Regions from separate parts of the Homo sapiens genome. Here region 2 is linked to region 1. The links are contacts of gene promoters, found by promoter capture Hi-C in human tissues and cell types (Jung and others, 2019). All regions are on one chromosome and are shown on one strand. The core of a region is centred on a gene start or on the middle of the fragment in contact, and the rest is flanking DNA. Distances in the headings are between cores, read along the strand shown.

Evidence for each region. Contacts are between HindIII fragments. The study calls those that stand out against the background at their distance.
Region 2: a contact is called between a fragment that was not itself captured here and the fragment with the promoter of PDCD6 in region 1, in 1 of the 25 tissues and cell types used here (heart right ventricle).

What each region holds. Positions count from the first base shown.
Region 1 is chr5:270,396-273,685 of GRCh38, reverse strand. PDCD6 (programmed cell death 6) reads right to left here and starts at 2,040. Exons shown (of 6, transcript NM_013232.4): 1 at 1,865-2,040; 2 at 914-975. The coding sequence starts at 1,965. It overlaps PDCD6-DT (PDCD6 divergent transcript), which reads left to right and starts at 2,162. Exons shown (of 2, transcript NR_104613.1): 1 at 2,162-2,341. It overlaps PDCD6-AHRR (PDCD6-AHRR readthrough (NMD candidate)), which reads right to left and starts at 2,040. Exons shown (of 13, transcript NR_165163.2): 1 at 1,865-2,040; 2 at 914-975. RefSeq lists a silencer at 1,748-1,957 and enhancers at 2,248-2,337, 2,999-3,290. The HindIII fragment of the contact is 6,729 bases long and covers 1-3,290 here.
Region 2 is chr5:1,646,357-1,649,646 of GRCh38, reverse strand. No RefSeq gene overlaps it. Among named protein-coding and RNA genes, the nearest start is that of MIR4277, 61 kb to the left of the region's middle. The HindIII fragment of the contact is 6,612 bases long and covers 1-3,290 here.

The DNA.
Region 1 (3,290 bases), core at 791-3,290:
GCGCAGTGAGGCAGTGTCTAGCAGCCGTAGTGCTCCCCGCGCCCCAGTTCAGTCTCTGGCAACTTCAGATACTTCCCACTAATAACAAGAAGCCTTTCAACATTTTCACAACATCTCAAAACTGACCCCTTTTCTAGCTTAAATGGCACGGATCTGGAAAAGCAAACTATACACAGAATCAGAAAAGATGACTGCCCCTGAGGGATTACAGAAAAAGTGGCAGTCAGGTTTCAATGAAGTAAAATGTGTCCAATGATAGCGGAGGGGAGGGGGATCAACTGAGCTGAAACTGGCAAGAACGTAATTCCAGGGAGCTCACAACACGCAAGGACCCGGATTTCCCGCTGCCTGAACGCCCAGTATTCGCACACTGATAAGAACACCTCCCCATAATCCCCTGGCCAGCGCCTCCAACACCCCCAATCCTTTCCCCAGGAACCCAGTCCCAGTTTCTGCAGTTCCTGTAACAGCCACATTCCCATACAAGGGCTGCCTGAGCTCCCCAAGCCCTCCAACAATCACCCCCCAGTGCCCTCGAAGGTCTATTCAGAGAAGTCACCAAGATGCAGTCACCCAGGAAATTCAAGGACCTCCAACTTACCAAAAGGCTTTCGGCTGTACAGAGCTAAGCTTCCTATTCCCCTCCTAAACCTACAATCTAGTTTTCATTTCTCAAGAAGCCTTTCCCTGTGCTCACGCACGCAGTTGTTAGCTGGCTCGGTGAGGCACTCCAAGCAGTAACAGCGGTAGCCACAAAATAAACCAGAAGCATCTCCACTACGAAGCAGTAATAACAATTTGTCCTAATGATTCCTTTGTCCTTGGAAAAACAACTTCAGAAAGTTATCCACTGTGAACAGGGCAGGCTCGCGGCTTCTTGGTCCGGAGACCCAGTTCCCACTGGCCCACTCACCGTTGGAGAGAGCTTGCTGAAGCTCGGTGTCTGATATCACTCCACTCCTGTCTTTATCGACCCTATAACATCAAGAAGACCAAATAAGCTGGCGATCGAAAGTTCAGGAAAAGCAAAACAAACGTCTTCTGTCAACCCTGCACCGACTCTGGAAGGCTCCCTCCTGGAACCTCCGCCTCTCCCGTCCCGCTGAGGAGTACAGCGGAATCAAGGAAGTGCCCCAGGAGCCGACGTCCAGTGTGGTCTTCCCCTAAGAGGACAATCATCTTCACCTCAATCCTTCCCTTCCTTCCTCTCCTGGCCTGTCTGAATTCCCATTTGCACCCGTTTCCCTTTTTCACAGACAAGACAAGATTCCCTCAGATAACTAAGCCATTCCCTGGCCATCAGTCACTACAGTTTCGGACATTCGGTGGAAAAGCGACCAGGGACAGAAGGCGCCGCCATAAAGGTCACCTGGCCCGAGCAGACGCCAGGTCGCTGCTTCTTCCTTGGCTGCTGACATTTTAACAGCGCCCAGGCAGTCTGTTTCCGCTTTCCCCAAACAAGCACCCTGGAGACCCTCCACCTGGCGGCTCTTGAGGCGAGAAAAAGGGCCTAGCCCAGGAGCCGGTGGCCGCGACCTCGGGTCTGCAGTGGCGCACTCTGCATCTTGGGAAGGGCCCGACGCACAGGACAGGGACCGGGCAGGAGGCAGGGGCGGCCCCAGGAGACCGGGCAGCGGACGGGGGAGACCGCGGGGGACCCGCCAGGGGACGGGGGCGGCCGCGTCGGCTGGGGCAGGGGTCGGGGGCGGCGGCAGGGGACGGGAGGGGGCCGCGGGGGACCCGACAGGGGACGGAGGAGGCCGCAGTAGAACCGGCAGGGAACGGGGTTGGTCGGGGGAGTCGGGACAGGGGTCGGGGCCGCCGCGGCGGAGGCGGGAGGTGCCCGGGCGGTGCCAGGCCGCACCTCTGGAAAACGTTCCACAGGAAGCTCTGGTCCGGCAGCGCCGCGCCTGCAGCAGGCCCAGGGCCGGCCCCAGGGCCGGGGCGGTAAGAGTAGGCGGCCATGGGCCAAGGCACGCGGCTGGGCTGAGGCGCCTGCAGCGACGAGAGACCTCTCAGGCCGACTCCGCTTCCGCCTCTGCCGGGGGCAGGGCCTGGCATTATCACCACTTCCGGGGGCGCAGGAAATGCGTGGTCTCCGGGATGGTCACGGGGTCCCGCGCAGCCAATCCCCTCGCAGCTAAGTTGCCAGGCAACGCCCTGGCGCCTGCGGGGAGGGCGGGGTCTGGGCGCCTGGAGGAAGCCAGAGCTTTGGCGCAGGCCGCCTGCGCGCTGTGCCAGGAAAGCGCTTGGAGAAAATGTCCGGCCCCGCGACCTGGGACAGGAAGTGATGGAGCACGGACTTAGTTTGCCTTTCAGTTCTTGTATAAATAGTTTTGAGGTGAATGTGATTTGCTAACAGTCGGAAACTCTGGGCGGGGCGCGGTAGCTCACACCTGTGATCCCTGCCCTTTGGGAGGCGGAGGCGGGCGGAGCTCTTGAGCCCAGCAGTTCGGACCAGCCTGGGCAGCATGGATAGACCCCATCCCTACAAAAATTACAAAAAGTAGTCGGGCGTGGTGGGCTCCTGTGGTCCCATCTACTCCGTGGGCTGAGGCGGGAGGATTGCCTGAGCCCGGGAGGTCAAGGCCGCAGGGAGCCGAGCTCACTGCACTACAGGGGTGGACAGCGAGACTCTGCCAAAAAAAAAAAAAAAAAAAAGAAAGCAAAAGCAGGCCGGGCGCGGTGGCTCACGCCTGTAATCCCAGCACTTTGGGAGGCCAAGGCCAGTGGATTACCTGAAGTCGGGAGTTCGAGACCAGCCTTGGCCAATTGGGAGACACCCCGTATCTACTAAAAATACAAAACTAACCGGGCGTGATGGTGCACACCTGTAATCCCAGCTACTCGGGAGGCTGAGGCAGGAGAATTGCTTGAAACCGGGAGGAGGAGGTTGCAGTGATCCGAGATCGGGCCATTGCACTCCAGGCCTGGGCAACAAGTGCAAAACTCTGTCTCAAAAAAAAAAAAAAAAAAAAGTCAAAACACAATTCGGGTGGGAAAGGCAGTGTGCAGCATTCTCGGTTGTCTGTTCCGCCCCCAAAAGCTTCCCTCCTTTAGGTTTAACCTGCGCCCCCGTGCTCTGCATCAGCGCGGCCCCTGACCCCGTGCAGCTGGAAACACTGCTGGGCCCCTTCACACCCCTGCCTGCTGGGCCCCTTCACACCCCGGTGGTGGTGCAGCCCTGCCTCCCGCAAGACAGCACTGCCTTCGTGCTGGACACAGTTCTAAGGTGGAGCCTGGAGTGCCTGTAGCACAAATCCCGGAATTGGGAAGTGCCCAGCTTTGGG
Region 2 (3,290 bases), core at 572-3,071, 1.4 Mb before region 1:
ATGGAACATTGGAACTTACTCCTTCCCCTGACTGCATGTTTGTGCCCCGTAACCAGCCTCACTTTCTGTCTGCCTCTCACCCACACACCCTGCCCAGCCTCTGGGAACCACCAGCCAACTCTCTGCCTCTGTGAGAGCCACTCTTTCAGTGCCCACAAATGAGTGAGAACATGGTACATTTGTCTTTCTACCCCGGCTTACTTCCCTTAACATGACAGCCTTCAATTCCATCCATGTTGTTGCAGACGACATGATTTCATTCTTGTGTATGGCTGCAGAGTATTCCATCGCGAATAGATATCACGTGTTCTGTATCCATTCATCCATTGATAGGCACCTAGGTTGATTCCATATCTTTGCCATTGTGAACAGTGCTGCAGTAAACAGGGGGGCCCAGATTCCCTTTCACACAGGATTCCCTTTCCTTTGGATAAATACCCATCAGCGGGGATGGCTGGATCATAGGGTAGCTCTATTTTTAATTTTTTAAGAACTCAATCCTGTTGTCCATAGCGGCTGTACTCATTTACATTCCCACCTACAGTGTGTATGGTTCCCCTTTCTCCACATCCTCGCCAGCATTTGTTATGGTTTTTGTTTTTAATTAAAGCCATCTGAACTGGGGTAGATGATACCTCATTGTGGTTTTGATGTGCATTTCCCCAATGATTCATGATGTTGAGCATTTTTTCGCTTGCTTTTTGGGGCCAATATCCAGAATACACAAGGAAATCAAACAACAGAAAAAAATAGATAAATAAATAATCCCATAGAAAGTAGACAAAAGATCATTTCTCAACAGAAGACATATAAGTGGCCAAAAGGTTTATGGAAAATTCTAAGCTTTTAATCTTTGTGTTCCTTTCTTGTTTCAAGCAGTGTTTCTCTTTTTCTTTCCTTTTTTTTTGAGATGGAGTCTCACTCTGTTGCCCAGGCTGGAGTGCAGTGGTGTAATCCTGGCTCACTGCAACCTTTGCCTCCTGGGTTCAAGCGATACTCCTGCCTCAGCCTCCCAAGTAGCTGGGATTACAGGCATGCACCACAACGCCCAGCTAATTTTTGTATTTTTAGTAGAGACAGGGTTCCACCATGTTGACCAGCCTGGTCTTGAACTCCTGACCTCAGGTAGTCCTCCCACCTTGGCCTCCCAAAGTGCTGGGATTACAGGCATGAGCCACTGCACCCAGCCCAAGCAGTGTTTTTCAAAGCCACGTCTCAGGACCACCTCAAGAATGCAGACATGAGGGTGGGATCAGCAGTTCTGGGGGGGGTGGGGGAGCTGAGCGCCCCACCAAAGAAACGCTCACCTGTTTTGCAGAGCAAAGGATTCCACAGGGGGAAAAACAAAAAGCAAAAACAAGAACTTCCTGATCACCTTTTATTTTTGAGACAGTCTCAGTCTGTCACCCAGGCTGGAGTGCAGTGGTGCAATCCCAGTTCACTGCAACCTCTGCCTGCTGGGTTCAAGTGATTCTCATGCCTCAGCCTCCCAAGTAGCTGGGATTACAGGTGCAGGCCACCACGCCCAGCTAATTTTTTTTTTTTTTTTTTTTTTGTATTTTTGGTAGAGACAGGGTTCGCCATGTCGGCCAGGCTGGTCTCAAACTCCTGATCTCAAGTGATCTGCTCGCCTCGGATTCCCACAGTGCTGAGATTACAGGCATGAGCCACCACGCCCGGTGGCTGATCACCCAAGTTCTATCTGCTCCTCCTGGAGCCTGCCAGAGCCTTCCCACCTGGAAGCATCCGAGGGACTGAGGCTGGGATTTGGGGGAAAGGAGGCTGTCTGAGGAGGCCACAGCTGGTGAGCTGCCGGGATAGACCCACAGGGCCTGGGGTAACAGGCAGGGGTTTGGACACTGTCTTTCGAGTGACAGGGAGATGCTGGTGGGCACCAAGCAGGGTGGTGGTGCCATTACCTTGGAAAGTGGAAGGCTGCTTCTGCCTCAGAGAGCCATGGGCTGGAGAGAGGCGCCCGTGGGCTAGAAACCTCACACGATTAAAACGCCTATGACAGAAGGTTGGAGGGTGGCTTTTGCTTGTAAACATGATTTTTATTATCATTATTATTACTATACTTTAAGTTCTAGGGTACATGTGCACAACGTGCAGGTTTGTTACATAGGTATACATGTGCCATGTTGGTGTGCTGCACCCATTAACTCGTCATTTACATTAGGTATATCTCCTAATGCTATCCCTCCCCTCTCCCCCCACCCCACAACAGGCCCTGGTGTGTGATGCTCCCCTTCCTGTGTCCAAGTGTTCTCATTGTTCAATTCCCACCTGTGAGTGAGAACATGCAGTGTTTGGGTTTTTGTCCTTGCGATAGTTTGCTGAGAATGATGGTTTCCAGCTTCATCCATGTCCCTACAAAGGACATAAACTCATCATTTTTTATGGCTGCATAGTATTCCATGGTGTATATGTGCCACATTTTCTTAATCCAGTCTATCATTGATGGACATTTGGATTGGTTCCAAGTCTTTGCTATTGTGAGTAGTGCTGCAATACACATACGTGTGCATGTGTCTTTATAGCAGCATGATTTATAGTCCTTTGGGTATATACCCAGTCATGGGATGGTGGGGTCAAATGGTATTTCCAGTTCTAGATCCCTGAGGAATCGCCACACTGACTTCCACAATGGTTGAACTAGTTTACAGTCCCACCAACAGTGTCAAAGTGTTCCTATTTCTCCACATCCTCTCCAGCACCTGTTGTTTCCTGACTTTTTAATGATCGCCATTCTAACTGGTGTGAGATGGTATCTCATTGTGGTTTTGATTTGCATTTCTCTGATGGCCAGTGATGAAGAGCATTTTTTCACGTGTCTGTTGGCTGCATAAATGTCTTCTTTTGAGAAATGTCTGTTCATATCCTTTGCCCACTTTTTGATGGGGTTGTTTTTGTCTTGTAAATTTGTTTGAGTCCTTTGTAGATTCTGGATATTAGTCCTTTGTCAGATGAGATTGCAAAAATTTTCTCCCATTCTGTAGGTTGCCTGTTCACTCTGATGGTAGTTTCTTTTGCTGTGCAGAAGCTCTTTAGTTTAATTAGATCCCATTTGTCAATTTTGGCTTTTGCTGCCATTGCTTTTGGTGTTTTAGACATGAAGTCCTTACCCATGCCTATGTCCTGAATGGTATTGCCTAGGTTTTCTTCTAGGGTTTTTATGGTTTTAGGTCTAACATTTAAGTCTTTAATCCATCTTGAATTAATTTTTGTATAAGGTGTAAGAAGGGATCCAGTTTCAGCTTTCTACATATGGCTAGCCAGTTTTCCCAGCA